Linked DNA regions of Homo sapiens: region 2 is linked to region 1. Evidence: promoter capture Hi-C in human tissues and cell types (Jung and others, 2019). All regions are on one chromosome and are shown on one strand. The core of a region is centred on a gene start or on the middle of the fragment in contact, and the rest is flanking DNA. Distances in the headings are between cores, read along the strand shown.

Region 1 (5,767 bases), core at 200-2,699:
AATTCATGGCACCTTTGAAAATATTTTACGGTGACTATCAAAATGTCTTTATTCTGCACCTCATGACATCTTGCATTAGAGCTACGTCGACCTCAACACCACAGCACATACTTGTAACTGTTTTTTTGTTTGTTTGTTTTGTTTTGTTTTGTTTCTTTCTCACAACCCTTTACATGGCTGTTTTCCCACTAATCGTGCCACTTCCACGGCCGGGATATAAAACCATTTTACAACAGTTATTCTCCCATGTTTTTCCTTCATTTTATAGACAGCTGAATCCCAGGATCGAAGCTGTTTCAGCAGACAACTGTTGGGAGCACACAAGATCTATTTCAGCTCAAGAAAGGCCAAGGACAAAGACAAGACAAAAGTTGTGGGTTAAAGGGCAGACTTTGCGCAGAGCACCGGTAGAGGAGCGGACAGTGTGATGCGTGGTCCACTGCAAACCATTTCTTCCACAGCAGCAGCTCTGCAAAAGGGACCTCTGAGGAAGAATTCCCTGTCTTCCCAGTGAGTGGTCATTTTAGGAGAACAAGTCCCCTACTAGCCCATAGCTGGAGGGCCAACACTTTTTCTCTCCCTGAAGTTCCCGGCACCTGTTCTGAAAGGGGGTTGAAGAGCTCTCTACTCGGGCCATCCCGCCTGCTCTCTGGATGGAGAACATACGGACAACTGTGTGTTAAGCAGTCCCCTTGAATCCTTCAGCAAGCCAAGGAGTATACAGGTGGTCACCTGCACAGGTGCCGGGTCTACCACCACAACTTTATCCCTGGCCTTGGGGGCTGATGGAGAGTAAGACTCCCCACCACCGCCACCAGCAGTACCTCCAGCTCGCGAGTAAGCAGCGCACAGGCGGGCACAGGTAAATGTTCCCAGGGCGGCCAGACGCCTAAGCCTGCTGGCTGCTGGCGCTCAGGGTCCCCACCTCCATGCCTCTGCGTGGGGCAGGGGGAGTCCTCGTGCCTGGCATCCCACTCCCCCCGCCAACCCAGCCCGCTTATCCTGGGGCTCCGGCCGGGCCGCCCGAAGGAGCCCCGCGCCCAGCCCCGGGAGCCCCGAGCCGCCGGAGCCGCAGCGCCCACTCGGGGCAGGCAGCGTGCACTCACCCTTCTGCTCTCGCAGGCTCGACAGCGACCAGAGCAGCAGCGCCACCGAGGCCAGGAAGCAGAGCTGGCTCAGCAGAAGGTCCCTCCGGCGGCGGCGGCGGCGGCGGCGACGCGCGCGGTCCTCGTCGCCGGACGGCCGCATCCTCGGGCGGCCGGGCGGCGGCCTCGGCGGGCGGCGGCCGCTCCTGTCGCGGGCGGCCGCGGCGGGGACAGCGGCAGGAGGCAGCCCTGCGCGCAGCAGCCGCGCGTCCTCGCTGCGCTCCCACCCGGCCGCCGCCTCCGCCTCCTCTTCCTCCTCCTCGCCGCTGCCCGTCTCCTCGTCGTCGCCCTCCTCGTCGCTATCGCCCAGTCCCTCCTCCCCTCCCTCCTCCTCCTCCTCGCCGCTCGCCCGCGCCGCCGCCTCCCGGCGCTCGGGGTCCCGCTCCTCCTCGCGCGCCATGGCTCCCACGCTCCGCGCCCGCGCTCGGCCTGGGGCGGCGGCGCGGCGGGGGCGGCGGGGGCGGCCGGGAGGCGGGGGCGGAGGGGGCAGAGGAGGAGGAGCGGGGAAGGACCGACGGTAGGAGGGCCCGCCGCTGGCCAACTCCGCCGGTTGGCAAAGCCACCCCGGACTGGCTCTGGCCTCGCCGGCTGCAGGAGCGCCTCGCGGGGCCGCCCGCCTATTCCATGGTCGGCGCGATGGGGGCCGGGGCCGGGCCGGAGCGAACAGGGAGCACCGAGCGAGCTGGGAGCATGAGCTAGCGCAGCTCCCGGCAGCCTGCAGCGGCGAGGCTGGTCGGGCCAGGGTTGGCGGGGGGCAGTGCCTGGGACACAGCCCGGCGCTGGCCGGCATGGCGGGGAGGGGGCGCGCTGGGAGGAGACTGGGCTGGGGAGGGATCCCTGTGTGCAGTCCTTCAACCCTTCTGTGCCAGGGGAAGAGGGACGGCGCAGGGGGCCCCCTCTCGGGAAGCACACACGCTGCCTCCCAGAGGCCGATCTTCACCAAGAAGGATTCGCTGGAAACTTTCGGAAAACCGAGGGGCTCTTCAGCCTCCTCTCTACGTGCTACCTGGAGTCGGGGCGCCGCGAGTGCGCTTGGCTGCCCGCGCCCAGCCTCTGGCCTCGCCTCTTCTCGCGGGCCTCCCGGGTTTCCCTCTGCCCCCTTGCGGGGATCCCCCTGTGCGCCCGACTCGGGATCTGGAACAGGCCTCCCCAGAGGCTGTTAGTTCCATAAGGGTGTCCGGCTCCCCCCTCTGTCTTGGGCTCACACTTCGCTTTCTGTTCGTGCTGGACCAAGTCCAATACTGTGGCTGATCGAAGTGGGGACAGCTGGCACGGTCCCTGGAGAGGCGGCCTGAAGAGGCTTCTGGCCTTGTGCAGGTAACACCAGCCTGCCCTACCTCCAACGTTAGAATCTTAGTCCTCCCATTTCCCCCATTCTAGGTCTCCTGCCCCTCCTTGCTGAAGGTGTGGGCTGCCCTAGAGATGGCTGGACTCACGACCTGCCGCAGGTGCCCATTTGGAGGGGATCCCTGGCCATCCCAGACACAGCCCACTCTCCCTCATTGGGCTTCCCTGGACTCTTCCCAGATGCTAGCCTGGGGCTGCTGGCTGGGCTGAGGAGGAGATGCCATTGTTGGGGCGGAGGGTGGGGGGGCGCTGAAAACAAAAGACCTTGTCCAGAAAGGGATCACCTGAAACCAGGTGTCTGTCTAGGTGACTGTCTCCATGGAATCCATTCAGATCAGGGAATCTAGCTTCATACCCTAAGGAGGTGGGAAGGAAGCAGAGAACCTCTGTATAAGGCTCCCCTGTCTAGGTCTGTTCAAATGTGTCCCCACCTGTGACTGACCTACCCCCCCCGACCTCCTCCCAGACAATCCCTGACAGCGCCCGGGGACAGCAAGGTCACAGCAAAGGGCAAAGGAAGTGGTTATAGGTGGCCTCCTTTCCAGAGAAAGGCCATCTCACCCAGGGAGACCAGAGACTTTTCCTTTGTGGGTATATCATTTATGACTGCTGTTCTCAGCCTGGCATCTTCCAGACACTCAGAGTACCTCCCCCACAATGCCTGAGTGGTTTTCCCTTTGCTTTGGCTGCAGATACTAAGGAGGGTGTAAAAATACGAGTTCATCCGTGCTGGAGTGTGTGGGGAGAATTCTCTAGTTGTGTTATCTCCATCAAGCTTTTGCAGACACAGAAAAGAAAGTTTAGGAGCTGAGAAGAATTCAACTAACCAGGAAAGTCACTCAAATAGTGTTTTCTAGTGAAAACGAGGGAAAATAGAAGGTGAGAGAGGGAATCTGGAATTAATTGAGTTAGGAAATGAACACAAGCTCCAGGGGAAAATACCATAGGCTCAAGGAATTGTGTAATCTGGTGATGGAGGGGGAGTTAGGAAGGGAGCCAGGAGGAAGGAGAATAACCAGGAACTGGTAATTTCTTGGAAATTATCTCAGCACCAGGAGTGTATGTGTGTGTGTGTGGCGGGGTGGGGCGGGGGGGCCGGGGGAGAGCACTCCTGTGGCACACAGAAATGATTCTTGGGTTTCTATTCATTTTGACAGATTTTGGAGTGAAGGGCACTGTTAAAGTAAAGCACAGAGAGTGATTCCTTGGGCGGCCAGGCACCACCTAGGGAAGAAAGGTGGGGATCCTGGTCCCTAGGCTGACAGCAACTGAGACCTGATAGGTTCCTCAGCCCCCCAGGTGATGGCCAAGTGAGACAGGCCTCAGGAGCTCCTCTCCAAAGAAAACAGTCATTTTTTTTCCTACCTGTCCCTTTCAGTCTTTGGAAGCTCCCTCCAGAAACCGAACTGTGAAAGGAGCAAGAGTTGAAATGAAGAATGTGCTCTGATACTTCAGTCTGAGAGTATTTCTTTCCTGGAGAGAGAGGCATCACTCCTAGATGTGTGGGGGTCTTCACCCTTTCAGGAATAAGACAGGTGTCTTTACAGAGCACCTCCCCACCTTGGGCTGGGTTCTGGGGTCACTGTCTACTCCCCCTGTTTTGACCTTCCATAAACATTCTGTTTTCAGGTCCCTGCAGAGACTTTGGACCTGATGTGGTGAATAAAGTTGGTTAGTCTTTCTCACAGTTCTACCTTTAGGACAAAGAATAGAAAGCCTCCCGTGACTATATTCACTAACTCTCAGCCCAGGCCAGATCATCCACCAGCCAGTGAAAGGGACCTCGTCTGTGGCCAAACTAGGTGCAGCTCGGTGCCCTCCTGTGATATTTCCAGCTCTCCAGCCTCCTGCTGACCACAGCTCACAGACCTCATGGAGTAGTTTCCAGGACAAAGCAAGGTTATGTCTCCACAACACCAAACATTCCCAGGTGTGGCAGGCAAGCCATTGATTTAGAAGAGAGGAGGAGAGAGGAAGAGAAAACCAGAAAAGGCACTTTCTTGGTAAAGAGACATCAGCTTTCTCACCATGGCTGTTTCATAACACAAGGAGACCTGGCCCAAGCTCAGAGGGGAAAGACCCCTGGGTGTTCATGGAAAACCTTTAAGCACAGTGAGACCAAATGTTAGTAGATGGGGGATAAAAGGGAGAAATTCATGGAGTATGCCTAGAACAGGCCTTGTATGCAGCATCCCCTTCTTGCCTAGGACTTGAAGGGCCAGGCTTCCTGTCATTGCCTCACTCAAATGTAGCCCAGGAAGACATTAGACTGATAGCACTGATCACCTCCAGACAAAACCCCTGCACCTGCACAGTCACATAGACTTGGACAAAAGCCCATCCTTACTAAGGAAGACCTAACAACTATTTCTTCTCACGCCCATTCTTGTCCACCGTCTTTATCAAAAAGCCAGGAAAACTGCTTCTTCAGACACTTTCTGAGCCGGCTGTATTTTGAAGGACAAAAAAAAAAAAATTACTCTTTTGAGAGCATTGTGTCTGCAAGGTGGGCTCACGTTATTTTTGGTGATCAGTTTATGACTGGAGTTCAAATAGACTGCTTATTTTATAAGAGTTTTTAATTTTGAATATTCTTTTTGCTGAACTGTGTGCATTTGTTTGGTTTTTAACTCACCACATGAATATGACTATAGATTTTTTTTTCCTAGTTGACCATGGTCAGATTCACAATTGCCTTTAAAAAAAATTTGTTGGCTGGGCACGGTGGCTCACGCCTGTAATCCCAACACTTTAGGAGGCTGAAGCAGGTGGATCATCTGAGGTCAGAAGTTCGAGGCCAACCTGGCCAACATGGTGAAACTCCGTCTCTACTAAAAATACAAAAATTAGCCAGGCAGGGTGGCGCATGCCTGTAATCCCAGCTACTCAGGAGGCTAAGGCAGGAGACTCTCTTGAACCCGGAAGGTGGAGGTTGCAGTGAGCCGAGATCACGACACTGCACTCCAGCCTGGGTGGCAGAGCGAGACTCTGTCTCAGAAGAAAAAAAAAAAAAAAAGAAAATGTGTTGAAGTATAACATACATGAGGCAAAACGCACACAGCTTAAGCATTAACTCAATGACTCTGTATATACGTATACATCCTCACAGGTTCCAGACCAAGACATGGAACATTTCCTGCTCTCCCTGAAAGTCTCCCTGTGCCAGCCCCTCACCAGGCAATAATTCCCCAGAGATAGTGCCTCTTCCCAACCCTGTACCCTAGATCATTGTTGCCTGTCCTTGAACCTCAGATAAAGGGAGGCTCCTTTTGCCC
Region 2 (6,428 bases), core at 1,081-3,580, 600 kb after region 1:
GAAGAGAAAAAAAAAGAAAGAAGTCTCTATGAACTGGTATGAAAAGAATCTCTAGGACACACTGTGAATTTTTTTTTAAAGCCAAGATATAAAACAGTACATCACATCATACCTTTTGTATAGAAAGGGGAATATTTTTAAAATTCATATTTGCTCACATTTGCAAATGGATAGATGGATAGAAAAAAATAATAAAAGTAATTACCTCTAGAGAGCAAGAAAAACAGGCTGGACAGAGACACGAATGAGAGCAAACCTTTCCAGTTTAGACCTTTTCATATCATTTTGATGTCTGAACTACCTCATCCTACTACCTATTCAATCATTAATTAGAAGAATAAAGTTAGAGGACTCACACCTCCCAATTTCAAAACTTACTACAAAGTTACAGTAATCAAAACAGTATGGTACTGTGTAAGTACAGAAACATAGAACAATGAACTAGAACTGTGAGTCCAGAAGTAAACCCTCATATATATGGTCACAAATATATATGTGTGTGTATATGTATATACATTATATTATATATACACATTATTAAAAATTATATATCTAATATTATATATATTATATATAATTTTTTTCTGAATTCGTAGTCCCTGAATCAATAAGGTTTTGAACTCTTCCCATTCCTCCTGCTGAATGATTCAGACTTTTCGTTTCATCCCAAGTCACCTTACTTACTTGGATTGTAACAACACTGAACAGAAGTTTCTTTCTACCTATGCCTGTATCTTCTTTTAAAAATTATCTTTATTTCTTCCAATTGAATTGTATCATAGACTCTCGGCTAAGGAGAAAGAGCTGATCCTGCAATTCATGGCCAGAAGTGCGGAGGAAATTCAGGAAATGAGATAAAAGTGAGGAAGGAGAATAAGGACAGGAGGGGGAAAGAGCCCAGAGAGAATGGAAAGAATAGAAAGGATGGCAAAGCCACCAAAATGGACCAGTCCTCATCTCCTGAGACCCAGAGGCATTCATTGCACAAAATCACAAAGCACCCACTGTGCATAAGGCATGCTGCCATTAGTGCAGGAGTGCAAAACCCCACCATACCACTGACACTGCTTTTTTAAAAAAATTTTTTAGAGACAGGGTCTTACTCTATCACCCGGGCTAGAGTGCAGTGGTGTGATCATAGCTTGCTGCTGCCTTGAACTCCTGGGCCCAAGCAATCCTCCTGCCTCAGCCTCTCAATTAGCTGGGACTATAGGCGTGCACCATCACACTCAGCTAATTTTTTCTTTTTTTTTCTTTTTTTCTTTTCTTTTTAGAGATGGGGTCTTGCTATGCTGCCCAGGCTGGTCTAGAACTCCTGGGCTGAAGTGATTCTCCTGCTTCGACCTCCCAAAGTGCTGGGATTATAGGTGTGAGCCACTGTGGTGGCTGACATTGCTTTTAGGGTGGCCATGGTTATTTTAGGTAGGGGAAGGGAGAACTGGCAAGATCAGGTTGCTGTTCACAATAGACAATCAACTAAGCAAATCAATGAAATCACGAAAAGACAGGGTTTAATAACGAAAGTAGATATAGTTTGCCATTTGGGAAGAGGTATGCTACATTGTAGCTGTGAAGATGATTTACATGTAAGACCAAAAAAGAGACATGCAGGAATAAATAATGAAGTCAGTAAGCAAATTAATGAAGAGAATGAAAGAAAAGGAAAGAATGAGAGAAAATATAAATGTATTTGGCCAAAATCAGTTGGACATCTGTGTCAAACTTTTACACAAGAGCAACAGCCTGTACCACAGTTTGCCAACCCTGCCATTCATTAACAATGAAGACACGATCCCACATTATAATTTCCTAAATTTACAAGAAAAATAATGCCTTTGGCATCACAGTCTTTGCCAAAGTATATAGAACAGGCTTCCACTGAAAGTTCACTCATGCTGTTAAAATGCTTTAAATAGTAAACAGAGTAGAAAATTAAACAAATCCACAGAAATCAAGTACTAAGCACAAAACAAAAACTTAGACGTGGTCTTCCAGCTCCTGGCACTTTCTCTTTGCATTATGAAGCGGGAGAGGCACGGGCATCATGGACGTCCCATGGAGTACACAGAGCAGAAGCGGTCATAAACTGCTGCCCTCCTGACGTGTCTGTCCACATTTCTCTAGCTCTTAGATGCCCACAACAAATCAGACCCAGCAGAGAATATACAGGTAATCCTTTTGAATACTGTAGCAGCTTCTGATTTGCTGAACAAAGCTGACTAGTGAATGTTTCCCTGAGCCCATTACAAATGCCTCAGAGCTGGAACTAGAAGCTTGAGAGCAAAGGTTGCCCTTCTCCACTATTCCATTTTGGTATAACTTGTTTTTTTTCTAACTATAAAAGCAATACATGCTTAACACTCAACTTGGACAGCGTTCAATGCCTCCTGCCAAATGGGGCCTTCAGCATTCATGTGAAGGCTGGAGATCCCTGAAGGGCTGTTGAGGATACAAGTGACCCAGTTTCCTGTGCCTACTCAGTCTGGGGACCCAATAATGCACCCTCAACGTTTAGCTCATTCTCAGTAGAGGGGAAAATATGACAGGACTATTCACTAGTTTTTCCCCTAAAGCAATGATTCGAGAAACAGCCATGAAATGAGGAAAGTTCTACCCTTTGAGAGCAGCAGGGTTATGAGCTGTGGAAGACTAGAGATGGCTTCAAACTCTTTGACACTCCTGTCATTACAGCGTGGGACTGTATCTCCTCCCCTTGAATCGGGGTAGGCTGTGAGACTGCTTTGACCAACATTATATGACAGAAGTGAGGCTGTGCCACTTTCCAGGCCTGGTCTGAAGGGATCAGCACATCTATTCCCATCTTGGAATGCCTGCTCTTGCAATGCTCACTGTGGAGGAAGCCAGCACCATGTTATGAAGCCAACTGCCCTGAGACCACCAGGTTGGGAGGAGCCCAGCAACGTGGGGAGGCCAAGGATGAGAAGTTGGGAGGAGTAGGGGGAGGAGAGCAGAAAGGGGAAGAGGGTACACTGCGGCCGTTTTAGAAGGAAGAAAGGAAGGAAGGAAGGGATTGAAGGAGAGTGGAAGAAAGAGTGAGCAGGAGGAAGGGAAGGAGGAAGGGAGAGAGGGAGGGAGAAGGGAAAATGTGTGCAAGCCTAGGGAGCTTGCTGGGACACAGGAAGTGCCTCTAAATGGGCCCACACAAAAAACCCTTCCTGATACTACAGCCTGCAGCTTCTCTCATCCTTCTCATCTCAGCTTAAATCTCTCTCCCGGCTGTCTTTGCCGCTAACAAACATAGAAGTCAGCCAGTGCACCAGATGACCAAGTTGCCAGATTGCCAACAGTGTTTTTCAGCAATGTGGTCTCTCTTCCACTCCTCCATCCAAGTCTGTCCCTGAACCTCTTGAACCTGCTCAGGCCAGTCACACACCTGCCTAGAGCTGGATACTCCAGCGGCTTTACTGGGGACCTGGCCGTGAACTCTGTCATTTCTCCAGCCGAAGCAGACAGCTAATCCTCCTGCCCCGATGTTCATCCTAGCCCTACCTTGTCTCCTATGCAAAGAGGAGTGCATTTTTACACAATGCATTCAGGATATCACCTGGCCCAAGTTTTCCCGAGAACTGCACTGCCACAGGGCTGCTTCTTAGGGTGGCCAGCCATCCTAGTTTGCCCAGGACTTAGGGGTTTCTAGGGATGTGGGATGCTCAGTGCTTGAGCAGGAGCATGCTGGGAAAACCTGATCTCTGCTCTGAGGCTGGTCTGTCCAGTGCCCCAGGTCATTACAATAGAAGAAGAGGCTCAGAGAGTTTTTAAAAGAAAAATAGGCTGGGTGCAGTGGCTCACACCTGTATCCCAGCACTTTGGGAGGCCAAGGCGGGCAGACCACTTGAGCCCAGGAGTTTGAGACCAGCCTGGGCAACATGGCGAAACTGTCTCCAATCTTTTACACTTTATGTAAAATATAAAAGAAAAACAGTGGGGGTGTTTCCAATTTAAATAGCATGCACCCTAGTGGCCAGTCAATATTCAACGAGGGGCAACAGTACATACCCACATACAAGCATAAAGATCAACAACACTCTGCATGGGTATTGGTTTGATGAGTCAAGAAGAATCAACAAATGACCTAAACACAGCTCAGACAAAATCATGCCCAAGCACATGTGCAGCCACCACCTTAGCAACTAACCCTGTTATTCATCCCTAACACTCCCTCAAAGTATGCATCACACCAGTCACCTCAGAAGGTTCTGATGACACTTGTTTCTGAAAGGAGAATCGCTCATATACAACTGGTAAATGAAAGTGCATATACCACAGAGGCTGTATCTCAGCAGAGGTGGGTTTTCTCAGACAAGGAGAGCCAGACTAGTGGGAATAAAATGACAGCCTTCAGCAGAAAAGCCCTCAGCACTGGCAGCAGAAGCCCCTAAAAGTATCTTATGAAAATAAAAAACAAGTGCCTACTGCCTTCCAACCCAGCCACAGGACTTTGGTGTTCTGCTATTAACTCCATTTTTCCCATAAGCCCTGAGAGTTTTAGCAACAGTTTCGCAGAGCAGGAGGTTTCTGAGGAATGTTACCACGCTGTGGCAGAAACAGCCACACTAGTTTAGTATCTCTCTTCTCTAGACCGTGAGCTCCTTTAGGGCAGGAACTGCATCACTCTTACTCGGCACTGTATACCCAGAGCCTAGCACAAGGGCTGACAGATAAAGTGTCTTATTGATGGATAAGTTACAAAACTGACTTGAATGGAACCAATAACATCTCCCCCAGCAGAAACAGGACTAAAATCCTGGATGAACATCCTGCTCAGAAAGGAAGGACACTCTGGCCTCAGGGCACACTGCTCCCCTTCCTAGGCCCAAATGAGGCCCAAAAACCCCTCCGCTGATTTCCTTGATCATGACGGAGAAGGCAGGAAAGTCCCAGTAGACTCAATAAATACAGAAAAATAACAGAAAAGGGCCAGGTGCAGTGGCTCACGCCTGTAATCCCAGCACTTTGGGAGGCGGAAGTGTGCAGATCACTTGAGGTCAGGAGTTCCAGACCAACCTGGCCAACATGGTGAAACCCTGCTTCTACTAAAAATACAAAAATTAGCCAGGTGTGGTGGCAGGCGCCTATAGTTCCAGCTACTTAGGAGGCTGAGGCAGGAGAATCGCTTGAACCTGGGAGGAGGAGGTTGCAGTGAGCCCAGATTGCGCCAATGCACTCCAGCCTGGGCGACAGAGTGAGACTCTGTCGCAAAATAAAAAAAAAGAAAGATAACAGAAAAGGCCAATAAGCCAAGAAGATGTGAATTTTACAGTGAAGCAAAGATATCAGTGAAGCTCAGGTTCTAGAGACAGCTGCTGGTTCGATTCCAGGCTCTGCCACTTACGTGCTGAGTGACCTTCCATAGGTTACCGTGCTGCACCTCACCTACAGAATGGCAGTAATCCTCATACTCACCTCTTAGAATTGTTGTGAGTATTCAACGAGATAAAGAATGAAAGAGTGTTTGCTTTGCACAGGGCCTGGAATATAACAAGCCCTCAACAGAGGTATTTTGGCATGTTATTAACTAACAATAATAATAAACATGTGTGGGCCAGGCGCGGTGGCTCACCCCTGTAATCCCAGCACTTTGGGAGGCCGAGGCGGGCGGATCACGAGGTCAGGAGATTGAGACCATCCCGGCTAAAACGGTGAAACCCCGTCTCTACTAAAAATACAAAAAATTAGCCGGGCGTAGTGGCGGGCACCTGTAGTCCCAGCTACTTGGGAGGCTGAGGCAGGAGAATGGCGTGAACCCGGGAGGCGGAGCTTGCAGTGAGCCGAGATCCCGCCACTGCACTCCAGCCTGGGCGACAGAGCTAGACTCCGTTTCAAAAAAAAAAAAAAAAAAACACAAAAATTAATTAGCCGGGCACGGTCGTGGGCGCCTGTAATCCCAGCTACTCGGGAGGCTGAGGCATGAGAATCACTTGAATCTGGGAGGCGGAGGTTACAGTGAGCTGACATCGTGCCACTGCACTCTAGCCTTGGTGACAGAGCAAGACTCCGTCTCAAAAATAATAACAATAATAATAATTTTAAAAAAACATGCGTGAGGACCAAACCATAACTAGCTTCCCCTCCAGGGTTCCACTGTATACAGAACAAGTGAAAGAGCTTGGGGTTATATTACCAAGCGGGCCATAAAACAACAGGAACGAAGAGAGCCGGCCTGCTGTGGGCACATGCATCACAGCAGGGACCATGTGGGAAGAGCTGCGGCAGATGAGGAAATGTCCCTAACCGCATGGGTGCTGGCAGGGATGTGAGGAACACAGAGAAGGAACAAAGGGGACAACGATCTTCTCTCTGTCACTAACAACAAATAAGAGAAACAAATCAAATATAAATGTAAAATAAAATTTCACTTAGGAAAGGAGAAGGGAGTGAAAAAATGTTAAATCTAATTAAACTTTACG

What was found. Contacts are between HindIII fragments. The study calls those that stand out against the background at their distance.
Region 2: a contact is called between a fragment that was not itself captured here and the fragment with the promoter of SLC24A3 in region 1, in 1 of the 25 tissues and cell types used here (IMR-90 fibroblasts).

What each region holds. Positions count from the first base shown.
Region 1 is chr20:19,208,324-19,214,090 of GRCh38, reverse strand. SLC24A3 (solute carrier family 24 member 3) reads right to left here and starts at 1,449. Exons shown (of 17, transcript NM_020689.4): 1 at 1,107-1,449. The coding sequence starts at 1,248. LOC101929547 (a long non-coding RNA gene) reads left to right here and starts at 1,623. Exons shown (of 3, transcript XR_007067549.1): 1 at 1,623-2,462; 2 at 3,650-4,027; 3 at 4,122-5,767. RefSeq lists a silencer at 1,049-1,098. The HindIII fragment of the contact is 12,474 bases long and covers 1-5,767 here.
Region 2 is chr20:18,611,467-18,617,894 of GRCh38, reverse strand. The region is part of intron 3 of DTD1 (D-aminoacyl-tRNA deacylase 1); the gene reads right to left. Among named protein-coding and RNA genes, the nearest start is that of DTD1, 27 kb to the right of the region's middle. The HindIII fragment of the contact is 7,223 bases long and covers 1-5,941 here.